Linked DNA regions of Homo sapiens: regions 1 and 3 are each linked to region 2. The links are contacts of gene promoters, found by promoter capture Hi-C in blood cells and fetal thymus (Javierre and others, 2016). All regions are on one chromosome and are shown on one strand. The core of a region is centred on a gene start or on the middle of the fragment in contact, and the rest is flanking DNA. Distances in the headings are between cores, read along the strand shown. Region 1 has its middle 350 kb from the start of CA8. Region 2 holds the start of TOX (thymocyte selection associated high mobility group box). Region 3 has its middle 370 kb from the start of CA8.

The links. The method cuts DNA at HindIII sites, captures the fragments that hold promoters and counts their contacts. A CHiCAGO score of 5 or more calls a contact.
Region 1: a contact is called between a fragment that was not itself captured here and the fragment with the promoter of TOX in region 2, in 1 of 17 cell types (M2 macrophages). The highest score is 5.2, in M2 macrophages.
Region 3: a fragment that was not itself captured here is called in contact with the fragment with the promoter of TOX in region 2 in 1 of 17 cell types (M2 macrophages); the score reaches 6.6 in M2 macrophages.

What each region holds. Positions count from the first base shown.
Region 1 is chr8:59,933,544-59,938,147 of GRCh38, forward strand. No RefSeq gene overlaps it. Among named protein-coding and RNA genes, the nearest start is that of CA8, 350 kb to the right of the region's middle. The HindIII fragment of the contact is 3,724 bases long and covers 424-4,147 here.
Region 2 is chr8:59,115,779-59,120,496 of GRCh38, forward strand. TOX (thymocyte selection associated high mobility group box) reads right to left here and starts at 3,369. Exons shown (of 9, transcript NM_014729.3): 1 at 3,108-3,369. The coding sequence starts at 3,209. It overlaps TOX-DT (TOX divergent transcript), which reads left to right and starts at 3,432. Exons shown (of 3, transcript NR_149031.1): 1 at 3,432-3,507; 2 at 4,179-4,293; 3 at 4,558-4,718. RefSeq lists silencers at 6-55, 3,894-4,113. The HindIII fragment of the contact is 5,602 bases long and covers 3,275-4,718 here.
Region 3 is chr8:59,913,922-59,918,430 of GRCh38, forward strand. No RefSeq gene overlaps it. Among named protein-coding and RNA genes, the nearest start is that of CA8, 370 kb to the right of the region's middle. The HindIII fragment of the contact is 3,620 bases long and covers 930-4,509 here.

The sequences.
Region 1 (4,604 bases), core at 1,036-3,535, 820 kb after region 2:
GCTAATTCTTCCAACCAGAGTTTGTCTCATGATCCGAAAATGTCTGTGACTCTGCACACCGGAAATGTACGTGTAAAGGAGAAAAAATAAGGATAGAAATGCACAGAGCCAGAGGTTAGCATGTGAAAAATTCCTCCAAATTAGAAAACTCCCATATGAATGAAGCTTGATTGCTGTTTCCCCAAATTTGACAACAATTGTGAAAATTTACATGACTTTACCAATAACACTAATGAAGCAGAATAACTTTTCAATTTATTGAAACTAAAACAATTTTAATTAACCATGCTAGAGATTTTCATTTTCTGTTTCAATCTATTGAAAATTATATGACAAAATTATCACTTAATATTGATTAAACAGTATGCAACAAAACTTTGGGCAATTTTTTAAGACATTAAATTTTGTGGTGTTTCAGTTGTAAGCTTCTTAAAAAGTGTAACCTGGTTATAATTTTTTGTTATCATTCTAAATAAATACCAATTTTCATACCTCGTTTCATGTTTTTAAGAGGTACAGCCAAATTGTAGAAGCTCCAGGCCCCACAAAACCTGGATTTAACTCTGAAAACATTAGCAAACAAAACAGATTAAAAACCAATAAAAAAGAACTCACATAAAGTTTAAATTCTAGCATGGAAAACAGCTGATAAATAAAACATGTAAGTGAAGTAAACAATACATGGGATGGTGATAACTGCTGTGGAGAGAAAGAAGGGAGGGGTAGAGATGCAATTTTAAATAAAGCATCTCAATGAACTCCTCATTAGAAGGGAACATTTGAGCAAAGACTGAAGAGGATGAGGGAACGAGCCCTGTGGATATCTGGGGAAGAGGGAAACACACACAGGTAGAATTGCTGAGCCTGGAGCATGTCTGCCTGTGAAGGCCAGTGTGGCAGGAGCATAGTTGGAGACGATGTCAGAGAGGAGTGGGTGGATGCGGAGGAGATCATAGGGAAGGCTTGTGGGCCCCTGTCAGTACAATGGTCTTTACCAAAAGTGAGACAATTAGGGAATTTTGAACAAAGAGATATGATAAGCCAATTTAAAATGGAAAAGAATAATTCTAGCTGCCAGATTGTGGAGAGGCAAGAACAAGAAAATTAGTTAGGTAGCAATTGATTAATTCAAGAGATGCTGGTGTTTTGCCAGAGTGGTAAGATGTGCCAGTCTGGGATCCATTTTGAAGGTAATGGCGACAGGTTTGATAAATGAGGTATTGTATTCTCCTCATACAATATGAGGAGAAAAGCAGAGTCAGAAATGACAGGTTTGTCATTGGCGTGAACGATGGATAGAGTTGCCATTTACTAAGATAAGAAAGACTGCTGGAAAAGTGCGCTTTGAAGAAAGACCAATATCATTATTTCCAAGGTGTCAGTTGGACATCCAGTGAAAAATATCAACTAAGCAGTTGACTATGTGAGTCTGGAATTCAAGGGAGAGATCTAGGTTGGAGATATACATTTGTAAGTCATTGGCATATAAAATTATGAAACTAGAAGAGATCAGGAAGGGAGTAAATGTCAGGAGTGAGAAACATTCTAAGCACTGAGCATGGAATGCTTTAAGATGCTTTAAGTCTAAGAGGTCAGGAAGATGATGAGGAATCCACAAAGAAGACTGAGAAGGAGCTCCTGGTGAGGTGGGAAGGAGACCAAGAGAATATTTTTTCTGGGAAGCCTAGTATAGAAAATATCTCACATAAAGCCAAATATTGCATGTTCTCACATATAAGTAGGAGCTCAACCATGAGTACACATGGACATACAGAGTGGAATAATAGACATTGGAGACTGCAAAAGTGGAGGTGGTTGGATGGGGTTGATGGTTGAAAAATTACCTGTTGGATACAATATTTCTTATTCGCGAAATGGGTACATTAAAAGCCCAGACCTCACCAGTACACCATATATGCATGAAAGAAGCCTGCACTCGGCCAGGCACGGTGGCTCACACCTGTAATCCCAGCACTTTGGGAGGCCAAGGCGGGCGGATCACGAGGTCAGGAGATCGAGACCATCCTGGCTAACATGGTGAAACCCCGTCTCTACTAAAAATACAAAAAATTAGCCAAGCGTGGTGGCTCCTGTAGTCCCAGCTACTCGGGAGGCTGAGGCAGGAGAATAGCATGAACCCGGGAGGGGGAGTTTGCAGTGAGCCAAGATCACACCGCTGTACTCCAGCCTGGGTGATACAGCCAGACCCCTTCTCAAAAAAAAAGAAAGAAAGAAGCCTGCATTTGTACTCCCTCAAATATATAAAAATAATTTTTTTAAAAAAAGAAAGTGTTTCAAAAAGGAAGGAGACATTAACTTGTCAGAAGACGCTGACAACAGATTAAGACAAGGACTGACTGCTGACCTTTAGATTTGGCAAAATGGAAGCCACTGGTGGTCTTCCTAAAAGCAGTTTTTGTGGAATTGGGCAGTAGAAGGCCTGATTTGATTGATTTCAAAGCAGAATGGGAGGAATTAAAGAGAATGGGTACAGATTACTTATAGGGTCTTGCTGTAAATATGATCTAAGAAGTGAGGCTCTAAGTGGGTACAAAAGTGGGGCAAGGACAATATTTTTTACACAAATGATATATCAAAATGTTTGTTTGTTAATAGGAATAACCTAGTAGAGAGAGAGAAAACCTTATGATAAAAGAGAAGGAAGGAATGATTTTTACTAAAACTTAATCAGTATTATGTATCTGGCATTTATTTATTTATTTGAGTGCTTGCTATAAGGTGAAGTGCTATGTGCTTTGTTCACAAGGCAATTATATATTTCCAACAACAACTCTAGGAGCTAGATATTACTACCCTCATTTTATAAAGAAGAGCTTAGGCCGTGTTTCTGACATTACACAGACAATATGCAGCAGAGTAAAATATTTAATTTGGGTTTGTCTGATTCAAACTTGGTACCATTTCAAGTCTTCCTCATCTTTACTTTTCTGCAATAGCACAACAGGCATGTAGTAAATATTTAGTAGATATTCTGTGAATGTGTAACTGTATTAATGAATAAATAGCGAATACATATATACAGACATACATATATTCACACACAGACACACATACACCTATGCATACATACAAGATTGCAGCAGACAGGCATTTTGTGAGATAAAGAAGAAACAGGGAAGATTAGGGGTTCTTTTACTAGACTAGAAATTCCTCCCCTATGTCCTACGGAAGGTGCTAGAAGGAAGAAGTTAAAGAACGGTGGAAGTCTGGGATCCATTCCTTCGAAATCTCCCAACTGGGCGATGCTTCAACCAGTTAAAATATAAGCCTTTAGAAAAAGACTTTCAACTGCTGATACTATTTCTCAAAATCTCAGGCAAGTAAACAGGAGATTTCTTGGTTAAGGGTATATTCCTTTGGTCCCATAAGATAGGCAATGATCCATTGACACAGACTTTGTGTTATAAACAGAAAAAACAAAAACTTCGTAACAAGACAAAGCATCTTCTCCATTAATGGGAATCTCATTCCTTTCCTCTCTGCCATATATTTCTAAATAGTGTAATTTCTGAATTCACAGGTATTGCATTTAAACAAATAAACTGGGATATATTACAATTTTCAGGACATTTTCCAGTAGAATAGTAAATGGATTTAAACATTGGTGAAATGCTGACCTTCAGTTAGCTGTTCATTACATTCTGCAAACACACAGAATACCTTGTAATCCATGAGAAATTTGTGTAACTTGTAACATTTCAACATGAAAGTCACCCTCACAGTAAACACTAACCCTTTGTGAAGAAACACCATGCACCTTCTTACTTTTTATTACAAAGGATCATCATTTTTCAGGAGAAGTAATGAATATTTTCTGGTAACCCACTAACATTTTACTGCTGTGGTATGTTGAGCATATCAGTTTCTATACATTTTAAGATAATATATTTAGCTCTGAGTTGAACAAATTACATAGGCTTGGAGAGTCATTCTATTTTCTTTCCTCATTAAATTTTAGCTTCATTTATACTATCTCTGATATTAGCAATCATATTTTCAATAGAATTTTGAACAGCATTATTTCAATTTCAGTGCACAAACAAGTGATATAGCCATTCGTGGCTGCATTATAATCTCCTTAGCTTTAATTATTGTTCCTTAGAATACTGTGTCTTCCTAGTTTATAAGCTTTAAAATACATTCTCATGTTCAAGTCTAAAGCTGTTCCTTCTGGTAAGGACGGAAAAGGGCATACACATACATATCTTTCTTTTTTGAAACTGTACCTTATCATTTTATTGGTCATTGTATATAACCGTTTAGGTACTGGGATATGATACTGTACGAGTATAAAATAAATACAATTTAGAAAGCCATAGATCTTAACATAAATAAGCAAGTAAGATGAATTTGAACTCATTAGAAAGTGTACCGACTCTGGAATAAAGCTCTGTTTTTGTTAAGTTTTGGATAGTATAGGAATATTCCTTTCTATTTGGGGCTCCTTTATGTAAAAGAGACACAGATCGCCTCAGTGATTATTAATGTCCTACAAAGAAAGTGAAATGGTTTGGCTGTGTCCCCACCAAAATCTCATGTTGAATTCCCACGTGTTGTGAGAAGGACCCAGTGGGAGGTAATTG
Region 2 (4,718 bases), core at 2,119-4,618:
TTGCCTTAACCAACATCATTCGCATTGTTCCCACAATGGGCTATGTGAAAATGGAGGCTACTTTGCATAGTGATATGTTCATAACGTGTATTAGTCTTACAGTAGAGCAATACTAGATTAAACCGTTTCCAAAAATGCCTCCTCCAGAGTTTATTAACTGAAAAATGTAAGTAGCATTTTGGCAATCTATAGAGCAGCAGTGCCGGAAAGTGTCAGCAGAGTAAAACAATCACATTTTAGTTTAGAAAGCTTCAGGAAGAGAATATTCATTTTCTCCATTAGAGTCTCTTCTGACATTGAAAAAAATGTCACCGGGAAACTGTAGCTACAGTTGTAGGATTCTAAAGCACAGATAGATACTGGTTCCGCTGGGATTTAGCACACCAACTTTAAATAAGCAAAGTGTTGACAGGTTTAAAATAAAGATAATTAGTAATTTATGATCTTATCACCCTATTAAAAACAAATCACCTGACAAACTGACTGCTATTTGTAGTAAGCTACATATTCATTACGCCTCCGAAGGAAGCAAGATTTACTTTGCAGTATTGTTCTTTTGGGGATGTCTGATCCAACTTGTTTTAATAAATGTAGGCACAGATTTCTTACTTCACCTTTTCCAAACTTCTGTCCTTCTTCCATTTCCCTGCAAATCCACTCATGTCATTGCAAAAACAAATGCTAGTTGACTGCATTATGCACAACTACAATTGTGGAGCTGGACAGAAATTTTGTACCAATGCTAATCATGGTGGAGTGAAAAAACTCAAGTGCCTGGGATTTGTGGGGCCTAGAAAACTATCCAGTACATTTAATATAATCGGGACCAGTGACAAATATATCTGATGGACTGCTACACAGAGATGGGCCAGAGATGTCCCTGGAGAAACATTTCCATGAAGTCTTCTTCCACTATTAGAAACATGTCTTATGACTTTGGATTTTAAAAAATCTATTATTCTCTGGATAAGTTAAATAGAAGACTCGCAACTAGTCTACAGAAAGGGTGCCTAATTTGCATTTAAAAAGAACAGTTTGCTTCTTATACACGGGGTGACTTAAAAGGAACTTCAATGAGCTAGTAAAGAAATTCTGAATACTTTCTAAATTAATTTATTCAATTCACAGCACAACCCACTAAAATTATTTAAAGCACTTAATTGGAAAATGATTTAATATATTGAAGTAATTCCTGATTTTCCAAAGCATTTAACTTTTAAATTAAATCTGACCCTACTTATCACAAGAACGAGGAGTGAAATGTGTATCCAAGTCATTAACTTCTTTTTGGGGCCTAAAATCACTGATAAACTTAATAAGATTTGTCCAGTCTCATTGCCAAAATAGTTCTGAGCTTTTGGTTCCGGTAACTACAGTGGAATAAGTCTTTACTCTCCAAGATAGGGCTGCAACTTTATTATTTTTTATTAGCAATAGTATTGGTGTCATAAGCAAAATAAAACGTAACACAATACTTGAGTGTACAGACAAAACAGATTTTAGACTAAAAGAACTATGTCACCAGCAAATAATGAAACTTCATCACACAAACTCCTATGCGCTTGCCAAAGTTCCCCGTACCTTTCAACTTGCCCGTAGCTGAAGGGCTCCCTGTACAATGGAAGCCCTTCTGCCTTGCTCAAGACTGGATGTCCCTCTTTTCTAACTTGCCTAAACACCATCGGCACACAGCACAGTCCTTTGAGTGGGTCTCACACTGGACACAGCATCGAGGAGCTTCTCCACGGGGAAGTGTGTGTGTGAGAGCCTGCCTGTGTGTCAACACTGTCCAAGACTCGGAGCTGCGACTCGGTCGCGTGGTGCGGAGTCCAGGGCTGAGAAGGCAGCGCACTAAATATCTCTGTATCAGGTAAAAAAGCCGTTTGGTGATGACTCGCCACCAGGCAAATGTTGGGAGTCCCAACGATTTTTCCCGTGGAATGCACCGAGGGTCGCCATGGATGTGCCTGCAGGGGCTGTGAGTATCAGGCAGATTTATCACCAAGCGAGAGTTGGGCGTCTAAAAGGCCCGCCCAGCGTTTTAGAGAACTCAATTCTCTCTGCCAACGTTCATCCAACGGGACTGCTTAGACACGTCCAACTAGCCCTAGGCGTGGGCAGTCGTGCCCCTGCGACCACTCTGGGGGACCGGTCCCTGCGTGTCCTCCCTCTCTGGGATGAGAGAGTTCGAGAAGCCGGGAGAGTAACCCCCTCCCTCGTACCCCCTGACTGTCCTATAGGTGGACCCAGCCGAACTCCGCAGCAGCCCAGGCCAGCGCCCCACCTCCGGGTCACCGGCATGATCCGCCTCTCCCCGGGCCCCCGCGGCCCTGGCACCCGAGGTCAGCGGGCCGTGGGTACAGCTCAGCCGCGGACCCTGCTCCGCGAGTGCGGGAGCTTTGGACTTGAACGCGACGTGCTCGCCCGGCTCCCAACAAACTTGCAATTTCCGCGCGCACCCCTTAAACAGGAACTGTTCCCCAAACCTTGACCCAGCTACCCCGCTGTGCTCTGGCCCGCGGACCTGTGTCCGAACCCGGGCTCGGCTGCCGGAACCGGTTTGAGAAAACAAAAGAGTTGTGGGGCAGTTTTCCCTGTGGGGGGCAGGGGCGCCTCCCAGGTCCCTGCACCCCGACTCCCGGCTGCTCCCCTGGCAACTAATCCGGAGAAGGGAAGTGGTGCCACGAGCCCCCACTGCCCGGGGAGGGAGGGAGAGAGAAGGGGGAACTGGGAAATAAACTGAATTCTCTTACTCTGCCTCCGTTCCTGGACCCCAGACACACCCCCAAAGTATTCCACGGTTTTCTCTTATTATTTTTTTAAACGCCCCCCGGCAAACCTAGGCAGGGATCCTTAGCCGCGAACAGCAGGAAGGAAAGAATCCGAGCAAATCGTGTCACTTTCCGCACAATCGCGGTGTTTGGCAAGCCCCCGGAGCTACTCCACAATATTTACTACCCAAGCGCACGCAGGCTGCAGCGGGCTGCGAGCCGAGCGCGCCCGGGACCGGCCTCCGCCAAGCCGGCCCCGCCGCGGCCCGGCCACCGCCGCTCCCCTCCCAGGATCAAGCAGCAAGAACACGGTGGAAACAAAAGCAGAGCGTTCACCTTGTTGCAATAGTAGGGGTCCAGGCAGGGAGAAGGTCCCAGACAGGGAGCGTCGGGCGCAGCGGCGGGCTGGGCTGGAGGTGGATAAAATCTTACGTCCATTTCACTCTCACATCAAGCAACTCCTTTTCTTTTTCCTTTTTTAAAAAAAAGTGTTCAGCAAAACAAGCTTAGACGGAACAGAGTGAGGTGTCTGGGCTCAGGAGTAAAAGAAACACCTTCCTTCCCTCACATCCGTTTGTGGTTTGTTTAAGAAGAAGAGGAAAAAAAAAAAAAAGAGGGGGGAAAAGCGCTCAACTCTCCCCCAAGCCGCGGCGCGCACCCGTCGGCGCCGAGCGCGCAGCCTGCTCCACCGCCGCCTCTTGGTCCCGCCGCCGCCGCTGCCGCCGCCGCCGGGCAGGTAACTTCATGCGCTCATTGTCCCCCCCGCCCGCCCCCCCATCCCCGCCTCCCGCGCCCCTCGCAGCCCGGCACACGCGCTCGGGCTCTAGGTACTGGGCGTTTTATTGGAGATTCTGAGTTGTTCTGCTTGTAGTTTATTTTCTCCACCTTGGAGGCCCGGGATGTGGGGGGTGGGGGGGTGGGGCGGGGATCCAGAAGGGACAGGGCGGGAGGGGGGCGAGCGTCCCGGGCCGGGCGGGGTAGGGAGCGCGGCCGGACGCGGGCTCGTCAAGGCCCAATGGCTGCTGTTCGGAACCAGAGGCCGGGGACCGGAGAAAGGAGGAGCGGAGAAGGAGAAGGAGGAGAGCACGGCCTGGCTGGGACAGAAGCGGTGGGACCCTGGGAGGCCTCCGCTGTGCCCGTGCCGCGCTCCTCGGGACCAGCGCGTCGCACACAAAGGGGCTGCCGAGCCAGAGCCACCAGCGGCCTCAGGGCACCGTGGGGAGCGCGCAGCTAGGGGGCGCTGTGGCGCACCCCGCCCCGCAGCCCCGCCCCCGGCCCTCCCCGGCCCCACCCCACTCCCACCGCCCTCTCCGCGGCCGTCCCCACCCCTATCTCCGCGACCCCCACTCCTCCTCGGCTGTTCCCCAACCCTGTCACTGTGCTCCCCTCCCTACTCCCGGCCCGTAGTGGAGGTGACTTTCCTGCGCAGCGCCGCTTCTGAGGGCGGAGAACCCACAGGGAGTGCGACCCCTTTGCACGCTGTGAGTGGGCAACTGTCCGAGGGACTCGAGCCGATCGAAGGGTGAGGACCAGCTCGCCTGGGGGTGGACGGCCTGGAAAAGCCGCCCCTCTTTGGCTTCCCTCTGCCGCCTGCAGCCCGCACCCCTCCGAGATTCGTGCCCCACTGGACGGTTTGCGAAGGCTGAGGCTGCCTTGGGGACTCACAAAAGACCACAGGGGTGATTCGAAGTGTAAATAGGGAAACAATCATCAGCACACAATCCGGCTAAAGGGATAACATATGAGTTTGCTTGTTGTCCTTCATGGGATTCTTCTCTTTTTATAGCTGGACGCCCTATAGGGCTCTTGGCAGTCCACGAAAGACCTGGAGTCCGCCTCCCCATTTCTCCGGTCGGTGAGTGGCAGGAGGAAATCGCCAAACATGTTTTCCCGCTTTGCCTCCCCAACTCGGAAACTTGCAACTTGCCGTGTCCTGGAGGTTGAGAC
Region 3 (4,509 bases), core at 1,490-3,989, 800 kb after region 2:
CCAACTCCCAGCTGATTTCATTTACCTAAGTGAGTAAAATCCTAACAGCACAAAAGAGATCAGATAGAGAGTACCCTGTTAGTAGATGTTTTTTTCTTTTTGGAGTATTCGATGGTCAGAAAGCATAATCCAGGAATCCTCCAAAGCACAATGTGGTAAGCTGAAAAAGCAGTCCCTACTCAGCATCATCTGACAAATCACTGTCTGGTTCCCCCAATGACAACTGAAATGAACACAAATTATGTAAATGGGAAGAAATTAAGAAATTAGTTTTTGAAGAACAGAAAAGAAATGTAACCTGTCTGAAAGAATCTCAGCCTGAACTGCTGGGGATTTGAGGCTGTCATTTCTGGCAGGGAAAAATATCCATATTGAAAAAAATATTTGTGAAAGTAGTGGAAGGAATCAAATACTTCAATTGTTTTAAGTAGGGAAATAAACCTTCTATTCCATGTCATGGAACTGTAGGTCACAGGGCAGGAAACGCATGCAATCAGATGGCATCAGGTGGTGAATTCCTATTCACTAACTGGGCCACCTTTGATAGGTCATGTCTCCTCCACCCCGTCTCAGTTTTATCATCTGTAATGTCCTCTTTGAATTCTATTTAATACTCCATTACAAGTATAAATTGTCAAGGAAAATTTCTTTCAGTTCTTGAGAGACTAATGAAGAGGGTTCAAGTTGAGGAATTGTCCATTATCTCAAATAAAGCTCAGAAACTTTGAAGAAACCAACTGCCTTTGATCTTTCTCCCAATAATAATAAAGCCTTTACATTTTCAGGCTTCTTTTCCCATGCAATACAATGTGGAGTCTGCAAAAGAACATAGTCAGTAATCTTCAGAGTTGAGATCTGACAAGGATACTCTTGTTTCTTGAGCAAAGTGTATCCAAGCTCCTCTGAGCCCTCTTCTTGACTAGGCCTCAAGCTTGGCCTAGAAACACGTAAAAAAAGAAAAAAAAAAAGAGAAAAAGGAAAAAAGAAAAGAAAAGAAAAAACTCACTTAGGTTCTAATAGCTCAGGGCCACATCTCTGGAAGGACCCTGGTTCACTTAAATGTCTACCTAAGAAAACTCAAGGCTGCAAAAAGAATTTACAGTTTACGGCCTTACGGCCGGGCATGGTGGCTCATGCCTGTAATCTCAGCACTTTGGGAGACCGAGGCAGGCGGATCATGAGGTCAGAAGTTTGAGACCAGCCTGGCCAGCAAGATGAAACCCCATCTCTACTAAACATACAGAAAATTAGCTGGGTATGGTGGTGCATGCCTGTAGTCCTAGCTACTTGGGAGGCTGAGGCAGGAGAATTGCTTGAACCTGGCAGGTGGAGGTTGCAGTGAGCCAAGATTGCACCACTGCACTCCAGCCTGGGCAACAGAGCGAGACTCCGTCTTGAAAAAAAAAAAAAAAAAAGAATTTACAGTTTACTGTTTGTGCCAGCCCACACCTGAAGATAGGGCCTCTGTTTTCTCATCTCTTGGGAGAGCAGGAGCCAAACTTCACTAAGTGCCAGTTAATAAACCCAGATGGGTTTCACACGGAACAAGCCTCCATTCCTGCTTTTTTAACTTTTCACTTTCCTGACTCCATGGATCCCCAGCTCACCCTCCTCTCAACTGCCTTCTTCTCCCTGACAAACATCCAGTCACCTGTGTATAAATCAGAGTTGAGTTCAGTTTGTGCTGAACTCTTTTCCCTATTGCAATGAATATTTCTGATAAAAATTTGTCCTTAATCGCTTTAGCTACTGACTGGCTTTGTTTGACAGGCCTTAAATGATGCCCTCATTCTGAGGCTTTGGCAGCACTTGGTATAATTGTGGAAAGCATTTCTACTTCTTTGAGGGTAAGCCATTTTTCACAAACATAGTACAGTACCAGTTGACATCAGAAAAATGCACGGGACTTGAAGACACATTTTCTTTCCATTGGTTTCCTGTATTAATTATTTCAAGCTCATCAGTGCTCTGTGGGGCAATAGGCAATATTTCACCAAACCTAAAATCATGTAAAAATGGCTTCCTTCTGATGTTGCTTTTCCATCTCGTGAAATGGAAGTTGCAAAGGAAGATTCATCAAACTCTCATTAATGGGCACTCTGGAGCTCTGGCTATGCTGGGATAAACAGCATTGGCTCAGATAAAGTATAAACCTAGTGGCTTTCAAAATGAAAACTAATGAATCTGAGTGGGATAGTGATCAGAATAAGGAAGTAAGGCCAATAACATTTCTGGGTAACTTGCCATGAGCCAAGCACTGTCTTACAAAGTTTACATATATCTTCTCATTAATCTTTAAACATCTCTAAAGAAGAAACTAACCCTAATCTTACTTTGCAAGTTAAAAAATAAAAAAAACCAACAACTTAAATTTGAAGAGCTTGAATAATTTGCAAATGCCCATACACTGGTAAATAGCAATGAGGGATGTGGATTTGAGCCTGGGACTGTCTGACTCCAAAGCACTTCCACGTGACCAACTCATCCTACTACAGTGACACAGCACAAGACACTTATTTCCTTACCTTCTTAAAGCAACTGGAGTCTTTGATTCCTTCCAGTTTCCACAAAGGTTTTTTCAATACAGATTTTCCCTGCCAGAAATTAGTCTCAGATCCCCAACAGTTTAGTCTGAGATCCTTTCAGACAGGTCAAATTCCATTTTTTTATTCTCTAAAACACTAATTTTTTAGTTTCCTCCCATTTCAAACAATTTGTGTTCATTTTAGTTGGAGAATCTGGAGGGAGGGAGTTGTCTGACGGTACTGAGTAGGGGCAGTCATTGGGGAGGGTTTAGGGACAGGAATAGGGAGACGAAGGGTAATGTTAGGATGAAGGGGGCAGGTTAGGGGTATGGAGAAGGAAGCCTGCAGGGCTGGGCTGTGGAAGGAGGGCTAGTAATGGACCACGTTCCCAGCACAGACATTCGCAACACATTATGCAGTCACTGCTCAGGTCCCTGAGAGCTGAAGTTGCAGCATTCATTAGTGACTGGTGAACAGAGGGTGCTACAGGTATAGTTGCAGGGAAATATGGATTCTTAAATCTCCATGGGAATATTCTTGCAGAACCAAAGGAAGAGTCCATATGGGAATTGAAAGAAGATGGAGTTAGAGGACAATCTATAAAGAGGAGGAATTTCAGGGATGATGACCCAGCTCTTGTGGGTGAGGCTGTGCAATGTGAGTTTTATGATCTTTTTCACCAGGTCAGGGTATTCTTGGGGCAATGCAGACAATCTGCAATCTTAGGATTGTATTTTTGAAGGGGGTCTCTGAGACAATTGCTTTTAGGGCTGGGGCCCATCATAATGAGCCTTTCTTCTTTATATTGTCTAGTCATTCCCTAAATTAGCTGAAGTCTGTAAGTCGATTATAATGCAGCAGTTAGATTTGAATATAAATTCCACGATTGAAATGTAAGAGTGCAATCTGCTTTAATTTACACATTTCAAAAAGGTTGGTGACTCATTGGTAACAAAGATGTGAGAGGTGGGAGGAATCCTGTGGCTAAAGACCTGATCACCTCCATCAAAATTCTCTACACTAGTTGGCCTCATAGGAAGGGTACATTGACAATCTCTCTAGGACAGCATAGATATCCTTGTATGCCCCTGGTCCACGCTACTGTTCTAGTAACTGCTGAGACCCAGGGGCAGAAACACTATCTCCCCTCCTCCAAAAGAATGCTGAAGGACCTGTCTTCTTTGAGAGCCTACTGGCTGCCACAACTGCAGTATCTCCAGGGGCATGAACCTGGAATGATGAGCAACTGCAACTTTCCACTCTCCTGTTGTGCTGGGGATCTCCCTAACCTCTCCTCTGGTCTACGGAGCTGACATTAGGCTTAGATTTTATTCTACTCACACTCTGTGTGTTTGCAATCTTGATGGATGGCTCACTCATATAGAGAAAGGAACTTGCTCCTAGTTCCACTTGTAGAACTAGAAACTTCCTGGTTAATCTGTATAGCACAAGAGATAATGCATACAAAATAACTCACACAATAATCTGAAGTTATTACAATGTTTTAATTTTTATGTATTTTTTATTGTGTTATACATTGTTAATTACTATACTACTATCAGATGTGTGCATAAATATGTATACTCTATTAATCAAATATTACGTGCTAACTTTCTTAAGGGAACTATATATTCTTGTTGGGAATTGAAAGAAGACAGGAGTTAGGGGACAATATTATGAAACTGTAATAGGTGTGAGGATAAAACAGAAAAGATAGGGCACAAGCCAATTCTAGCATGTTCTTTTTAACAGATATTCTGGGAGGTGTGGGATAGAAAATTACTATAAGAATGCAATCTCTCCTCAGCTAGTGACCTGAGAATCTAGTGGAAGCATGTACTGTTATGGTTGCTGCAGATGAGTATTACATACCATAAATAAGGACATAAAGTTACTTCAGTTTTAGTTTTCACACTATTACCAATACATTAACCTCTGCAGTGCCCTCATTTCTTGCTTATTTGGCAACAGTTTTACCTGCAAT